3 separate regions of the Homo sapiens genome follow, and regions 1 and 3 are each linked to region 2. Evidence: promoter capture Hi-C in 16 types of primary human blood cells and fetal thymus (Javierre and others, 2016). All regions are on one chromosome and are shown on one strand. The core of a region is centred on a gene start or on the middle of the fragment in contact, and the rest is flanking DNA. Distances in the headings are between cores, read along the strand shown.

Region 1 (2,700 bases), core at 201-2,700, 830 kb after region 2:
AGGAGAGTTGAGATGTGTGAAAACAAAACAAAACAAAACAAAAAAAACCATGTGTCAGGAGACCTGCATCCAAGCCACAGCCCTGTCACTAAGCAACCCCAGCCTGGCCATGTGACCAGGCCCAGTCTTCACCTTTCTAAGAAAAGATGAATGGCTGGTGGACTGGATGGCTGGCAAAGCCTCTGCCAGCCTGATGTTCACTGTTCATCTCTCACAAGATGGGAAAGGAAGACCCTGTATCCTTACTGATGCAAGGTTGTCCTCTCCCATTGCCTCCAGAAAATAGTTTACTAATTTCGGGTAAAGAATGGGTGAGGAGTGCATTTTCTTCATGTCTTATAGAGCCCAATCAACCCTCTCCTAACTCCACTGTTAGGGTCTTGTCTTCTTTCTTAGAATCCCCATCATGATGACAGGTAAGGAAGTGAGAATACAAAGGTACACAGGAGGTAGAGGGCAGAGAGATACATCTTGAAAGGGCAAGAACCTAAAGTCATCTTTCAGAGAAGCACTGACGTGCAATCCAGCTACCTCCCTCATGTACTCCCACGTAGCATGTTAAGGGTGAATGGCATAGGCATGTTTATTTAATGACACCTAATCACACTCCTAAACAACAGTGGAAGAATGTCACATGTTCCAGCCTGATACACATGAAAGAGGCATTTTCCATGATGAGCTGAAGTAACTAACAGTCTCACTTTAAAGCCACATCCCATGTTGCCATTTATCCAAGCCTCCACAAAATTGCAGCCCGGGACTCATACTCGGACCCTGATCTAATTGTCCAGCATCACACAAGGCCTAGCAGTTCCTACTGGCCAGAAGACATGCTGACGATGCTGCATTATTCTCTTCTGTAATTTGTTGGATGATCTGAGACCTTTTCCTTTTCTACGACCCAGAAATCCAAAGACAGGAATCTGCTAAAGGATGAGGGCAAGGAAAGTGTAACAAATGTCTGACCTGAGCATATGCTTCTGGGCTCCAATAATCTAACTTAAACCTTAAACTTTCTGTATCTTAGTTTCATCATCTCTCCAAGAGGGATGTTAATAGTGTCAACTTTGTAGAACTGTCATGAGAATTAAATGAGTTAATATGTGTAAAGTACCTAACATAGTTCTGGGTACATAATTACAACAATGCTGGCTGGCAATGAGTGTAATACAGCTGTAGCCATTGTTTTAATTATGATTTTCTGCATGCAATGAATTTCAAGGCACAGACATCACTCTGGTTTTGCCCTCTGGGTATCTTCCCCTCTTAGTCAGTGTCACTAACGGACAGCTGCCCACATCGTTTATGGAAACTAGATACAAAGCCTTAGTTAAGTAAAGCTGTGCTAGGAATGAAGTGTTTTTTGTTATTTTACTCTAAAACAGTAACCAACAGTGTGGCACACATAAAGGGACCTTCTCACAGGTTGGTATGTAGAAGACTGCTGAGCAGCAGTCACCCATTCCATTGTAGGAAGAACATCCCTGCAAGGGCTTCTGTATTTCACAGGTGTCAACTGTGTGATCAGGCCCTTGCCCAGGCAGGCTGTCATCACAGCCCAGGGCAAATATGCAGGGACATCCTGGCCAGGACCCGTGTGAGGCAGAAGCAGGTTGCCTAGAGTAGGGAAGTTGCACGGCCAGACTGGGGTAGCTTAGTGACAGAGCCATGGCTCAGATGCATGCTCCAGACACACTGTGAAGCAATTAAGAGAATAAAACCAAGTGGAAAAGTCAACTACCAGCACAACCCACTGGACCCTGCTGCAGGTGAACAAGCAAATATCTCCCATATTGCAAAACAGCATTTACTCCCCAAAGAGAACAGAACCTGCAAGAAGAGACAAGGCCTAGGAATTCACTGGGAACTTTCTCTGAGCAGCAGTATTTCCTCATCTGATCACTGCTTTCACCTAAAAACCTAAGGGAAAAAAATCTACTGCTCTCTTGGCTTGGAAAAAAAGCGACTGGCTTGAAAGACAGACCTGTGGGGGCCTCAGAGGTCAAGCCAAGCCTCTCCTTAACTGAGGCCCAGAGATATCAAGAGGACTGCCCAAATGCCGCAGCTAGCATGTGGCAGATGCAGCCTGGGAACCCCTGCCCTGAATGCTGGTCCATGCTCTCCCCACCGCAAGACAGGGTGTGAGCACGGGGAGGAAGGTCCTGCAAACTGCAGAACGAACTACCTACTGAACGGTACCTTGAAACCCATGGGCCAGTGTATGAGGTAGAGGTCCAAATAGTTCAGCTTCAAGGCCTTGAGACTCTTTCTGCATGCTGTTTCCACCAAGGACTTCTTATGGCAGGTGCACCACAGCTACAAAGGAGAGGGGACCAGCGTCACACGTGCCCACCCAGAGCCAGCATGGCACCCATTCTGTAGCCCCACAAAGCTACTGTCTTGAACCCAAAATAGCCAAGATGAGATGACCACAAATACAACACGGCAAGTTCTGATGGGAGGACAGGGACATTATCCTCAGAAGAGTTCCAGGACACCTGCAGGGAGAGGCTCCAAAGCTGGGATCCTTCTGCCTGACTCCTCCTCAAGGGAAGCTCAGGAATCCAAGAGATATTTGATGGTTATTTGGATTCATTGGGACCAAAAACAAAAACGAAAATGAAATTCCTGCAGGCAGAAAAGATATGACGAAAAATCAGAAGAATCTCTATCTTGTGTTTCTCACTTACACAGACTCCG
Region 2 (2,700 bases), core at 1-2,500:
CAGTGCAAATGGCTTGAAATTCCATTCCCAGGCCTGGGGCTCCACATTTCCAGGGGCTCTGCTTTCCAAAAGATATGGTTCAATGTCCCCTAGGTATAGTGCCTTCGGTCTGGACTGCAGATGGAGACCTGGGTCATCCCAGAAGCTTTGTAGTGTGAGAGATCAAACTGGCTGCTCTGCCAGGCCTCACCTATTTCCAGACTGGATGATTCCTGATACTTTTACTTTTGAGCCCAAACTAACTTCTGCATGGAGGTTCAGTACAGGTCAGGTGAGTGACGAATCTCCTGACAGGGCTACAGTGAACTTTCACAAGGTTAAACCTTCTAAACTTGGGAAGCTGCTTTGCAAAAATAAATAAATAAAATAAAAATCCCTTACTCAATTGTTGACTGGGTATTATTCCGGAAACAGGAAACAGGTTTTTCATTTCTGCCAGGTTGTGCCCCAGCTTCCATTTGCTAAGCAGCTTAGGGGAACATTGGATTAAAAACCACCCGTAAAGAAAAGGCATTAAGAAATTGATTTGAACGATTTGAAATTATTATCTTGAAAGATCAAAGAAACAGTGATTATGAACACCGGCTCTGGTGGGAAGCGGTTCTTGAAAGTTAAAGCATGGGGGAACTCGAGTACTCTGGAGCATCATCAGCATCTGTACAATGCAAGTGAACTCTGGAAGCTAGACGCATGCTTTGCACGTGGACACAGACACATGCTTGCACAGGACACATTTGCAATACATACATGTTTATACATGGACACATGTTTTGCACACGCTTGCACAGGACACGCTTGCACAGGACACATGCACAGGATGCATGTTTTGTACAGGACACATGTTTTGCACATGGAAACACATATCCATGCTTTGCAAAGGGACACAGGGAAGCATGCTTACAATGGATACAAGTTTACACACGGACGCATGTTTTGCACAGGACATATGCACAGGATGCATGTTTTGCACACGGACACACACGTTTACATAGGACAAGTGCACAGGACACGTTTTGCACCGGACGTATTCTGTGCACGGGACGCACGGTTTGCAGATGCAAGCACACACACTCCTCGGCGCGACGGGCGAAGCGGGGTGGGCAGCGACAGCGGAGTCCGGACCCAGGGACAGCGCCTCCGGGAACCTCGCCAAGGCGGCGGGAACTACAACTCCCGGCTCGGTCGCCTCGGGACGACGCGCGGCCCAGCGCAGACTGGCCCCGCCCAGCGGCCCCGCGCGGCCCGGCCCAGGTCCCGGCGCCCAGAGTCGCCGCGCGGCCGCCGGTGAGCCGCATGGAGCCCCGGGCGGCGGACGGCTGCTTCCTGGGCGACGTGGGTACGTGCGGGCGCCGCGGAGGTCAGAGCGAGGCAGCGGCGCCGGCTCCTGAGGCCGGCCGCGTATCCGATGGCCTGCGCCGGGGAGGTGGTGGCGCGCCCCGCGCTGGCTCCGTGGGCGGGGGCGTTTGGCGGGGTGGGCCGCGGTGAAAGCAGGGTCCCAGTGGTGCCGCGCATCCCAGACGGGCTCTCATGTCTGGTGCCTTGTCCCAGGCCAGCGCACTGCGGGGTTGCAGTCCGTGCGGCTCGCCAGGTGTGGGGTTTCGCAACCGCAAACCCACCGAGCGCCGCGCGCCCTGGGGAAGGTGCGGGACGCGTGCGGGGCCGTTGCCCAGTGGCGGGGGAGAGCCTGGGAAACGCCCACGGTGCTCCCTCTCGGGGAAGCCAGGCGCGAGCCCACGGTAAGAGCTAAACCCCCCTCCACTGGCGCGGGTGAGGCCGTGGCGCAGTGTCCGAGCATCCTGCAGAGGCGTCCGCGTGACCCCGACTCCGCTCCAGTGAAGGTGGCCTTGGGGCACCCCGGCACACTCCGAAAAGTGCCATCCCAGTTCGCAGCCTACTTTACCAAAATCCGAGCAGCCCAAGAATGAAATGGATTTGAGGGAAGGACACTCTTTGGGGAAGCAAATTTTTTTGCTGCCTATGAAGCAATAATATGGTCACTGAAATGAGCGACGGAAGCACTATGAAAGCCTAAAAAGAAAAAAAAAATCTAAAGCATATTCATCCTGGTAAAAACAGTAGTGCACCTAAGAGGGAAAAGTCTTAAGGGTAAATTTAGCTGAAGAGGAAGTTGCAGTCATAGCAAGGCAAAGATATTTTAATTGACTTTGCAAAATAACCACCTTTGACATGATCAAAGGTATCTAATAAGCATGTGTTTTTACTTGGCATTCCAGTCCAGGCAAGCACAAGACTTTGACCCTGACACTGTGATCTGCATTTGATTAGCTTAATTGAGTAAGCAGTGAATAGCTAACGGCAGAAGCTTATTTAAACACATATTTTAATATTTCTGTTCATGGCATCACTTCTGAGCATGTCTTCTGCATCGTTTGTTATGGAATGCATCTGTAGAAGAAAGGCACATTTTAAACTAATGAATCCGCAACTTTTGAGGTTCACTGGTATTTTTGACATTGTCATTTTTTATTTAATATATTTCTCCCCAAATAAGTTCTGCTGATGTTTTTTATTCCCAGTGTAATGAATAAGCTGAATGTGTTGGATCCAAAACAATACTGCCATTCCAGCAGCACCAGAGGCGAACCGTAGGAGCTTTAGACAATTTTAACATTCTGACCTCAAATTCTGGATGTGTGGTGTACCGCGACCAAAACATTTAGGTTTTGGGCTGTTGCGCAG
Region 3 (2,700 bases), core at 125-2,624, 850 kb after region 2:
CCCGAGTAGCTGGGATTACAGGAGCATGCCACCAAGCCTGGCTAATTTTTGTATTTTTAGTAGAGACGGGGTTTCACCATGTTGGTCAGCCTTGTCTCAAACTCCTGACCTCAAGTGATCCACCTGCCTTGGCCTCCCAAAGTGCTGGGATTTCAGGCGTGAGCCACTGTGCCCGGCTGGTTTACCGTATTTTTTAATACACTAATATGTGTTAGCCTCAAAGACCTAGTTTCTTCTATAAAGTTTATAAACCAGGCTTCATGATTTTAGGGGAGATGACTTTTTAGAATATCTAAAAGGAGATGTTTCATTTTTTAAACCAAAATTTAGAAGCAGAAGCTACCTGGCACTAGTGTCCTTTTATCCATCATGAAAGTCTAGTCCCTTTGGTAGGGGACAAATGGATGCTTGTGGCTCAAGAGAAAGTAAACCCTGAGAAAGAGTTACTGAGTTAGAGTATGGTTTCAGATAAAAACGGTGATTAACTTCAGAAGATTTTTTTTATAATTATGGAACTCCAGACTAAACATTCTTAGGGTTTCTGGTCCAAAAGAGCTTCATTAAAAAAATATATATATATATACTTGGACATTCCACTGATCGCCGCTGTTTCAGGTGGGGTCATTTTAAGCTGTTAGTCATCTCTGGACCAGTCGCTGTGATCATTCCAAATGATTTCCCCCTTGAATTTCAATGACATCTATGCTGGGCTCAAGGGCTCATGCCTGTAATGCCAGCACTTTGAGAGGCCAAGGTGGGTTGATCACTTGAGACCAGGAGTTTGAGACCAGCCTGGCCAACGTGGCAAAATCCTGTCTCTACTAAAAATACAAAAAAAAAAAAATTAGCTGGGCACGTTGGCTCATGCCTGTAATCCCAGCTACTCTGGAGACTGAAGCACGAGAATTGCTTGAACCCAGGAGGCAGAGGTTACAATGAACCGAGATGACACCACTGCACTCCAGCCTGGGCAACAGAGTAAGACTGTCAAAAAAAAAAAAAAAAAGAAGAAGTCAATGACATTTGGCTTATGTATGCAACTCATACAGTGCTGACTTTAAACAGCCAGTACAGTAGGAGAAAGGGAACGACCCCCAAGAACTAGAGAAGAATCATCATCGCATAGGAGTTAAGCACATAAGCCCCATGTGTAACGGACCAGGTCAGGTGCTTGCTGAGTCACCAGTGATGCATCTGGAGATGTGTGACTCCCTGCAGCATCAAAGCAACTCCTGGGAAGTCTCACGGAGGCAGAAGAGAGACTCAGTTATAAATGCAAATGCTAAATCTGGCCGGCTGTACTGCCTATGTGAAGACCATATTAAAATAACCAGGCAACTTTTTTGATGTTAATTTAATAATAACAGCTATGCAAAATACTTAAAAACCAACTGTTTCAATTCAAGCAAGTCCCACTTCCACCCTAGGGGTGGGGTATTCTTTTTAACCCGACTTTCATGATGGATAAACCAAGGCACAGAGAAGTTCAGTAACTTTTCCAGGACTCCAGTCTCGTAAGTGACAGGGAGGACGGACTCCTGGGTCCACCCTGGCATAGAAGCATACTGTGTTATCTGTGTAACGGCCCGCCTGCCGGTGCTGCAAGCTCCCGAGGATGGGAAATGTGTGTTACCTTTCCACCGGAGGCCCAGCACCTTCATCACTGCTGCTTTCCTAGCACAGTGTGTTTGTTGGTGTGGAGGAGTGTTTAGAAGGCAGGAATTTGCTCTTTTTTTTTTACATAGCACTGCCCTGGAGACAGGGACCAGATCTTCAAGAGGGAACATTATTTATTCATCATCGATTATGGTTGCAGTGTGAAACAGAAAGAATACAGACACAAAATACACAGTACCTGCTCTCACAGGCCTCACATCTTCTTAAGATGACAGAGTGATATTAATTTTAAGATAAAATTCTTATTTAAAGGCTGGCTTCCATATTAATCCTAAATGAGTGTGGGCTTCATATTGGAGTTTCAAAATACAGGAATCAAAAGCTGATAGAACTGAAAAGGGGAAATAAGTCTGCAATTCTAGCTAGAGATTTCAACACAGTAATGGATAGAATCAGTGCCTAGACAATCTGTGGAAAGACAGAAGAGCTGGACAACTCTACCCTGCCCGGGACATTAGTGACCACACCCAATTGAAGCAAATACACATTCTGCTCACAGGCATTTGGGACATTCACCAAGAGAGAAGAGAACACATTCTGGGCCATAAAATGAATGTGTGTTGGAAAGGATGGAAATTCTGCCACATTCGCACCCCCAGCTGCAAAGCCTCTCTCTGGGTGCAGATGGAGAGAACAAGCCTGCTGTTGGGGTGACAGGCAGCACCTGTGTGCAATTGTACAGGCCTGCACTAAACAATCTCAGAGTGTGCAGGAGAGGAGAAGGTGGTGAGACATGTGGAAGGGGAGCCATCAGCAGGACACAACTCCTTGCAGCAACTGTGGGGCTCAAGAGAGGAGTAACAGCCAGGAATATTCACTGGTTCCTGGCTTGGGTAATGGTGTGGGTTATGATTTAATTCACTAATCATAAAAGTGCAAGGCAAGAGGAAAGATTTGGAATGAGTCTGTGCATCTGTGTCATTGTGTGTGTGTCCATGAGTTTGTGTGTGTTTGTGTGTGTCTCTGTGTGTCTGAGGGTGTCTGTGTGTCTGTGCATGTGTTGGTGTGTGTGTGTATGTGTGT

The links. Contacts are between HindIII fragments. The CHiCAGO score rates a contact against its expected background, and 5 or more counts as called.
Region 1: a contact is called between a fragment that was not itself captured here and the fragment with the promoter of ASB13 in region 2, in 1 of 17 cell types (endothelial precursors). The highest score is 5.1, in endothelial precursors.
Region 3: a contact is called between a fragment that was not itself captured here and the fragment with the promoter of ASB13 in region 2, in 4 of 17 cell types (M1 macrophages, M0 macrophages, erythroblasts and 1 more). The highest score is 8.3, in M1 macrophages.

Annotation. Positions count from the first base shown.
Region 1 is chr10:4,832,966-4,835,665 of GRCh38, reverse strand. It overlaps AKR1E2 (aldo-keto reductase family 1 member E2), which reads right to left. Exons shown (of 10, transcript NM_001040177.3): 3 at 2,200-2,316. Among named protein-coding and RNA genes, the nearest start is that of AKR1E2, 8.1 kb to the right of the region's middle. The HindIII fragment of the contact is 4,627 bases long and covers 1-2,700 here.
Region 2 is chr10:5,665,145-5,667,844 of GRCh38, reverse strand. It overlaps ASB13 (ankyrin repeat and SOCS box containing 13), which reads left to right and starts at 1,250. Exons shown (of 6, transcript NM_024701.4): 1 at 1,250-1,336. The coding sequence starts at 1,294. RefSeq lists silencers at 1,247-1,316, 1,617-1,666. The HindIII fragment of the contact is 2,178 bases long and covers 148-2,325 here.
Region 3 is chr10:4,811,627-4,814,326 of GRCh38, reverse strand. No RefSeq gene overlaps it. Among named protein-coding and RNA genes, the nearest start is that of AKR1E2, 13 kb to the left of the region's middle. The HindIII fragment of the contact is 3,258 bases long and covers 1-2,700 here.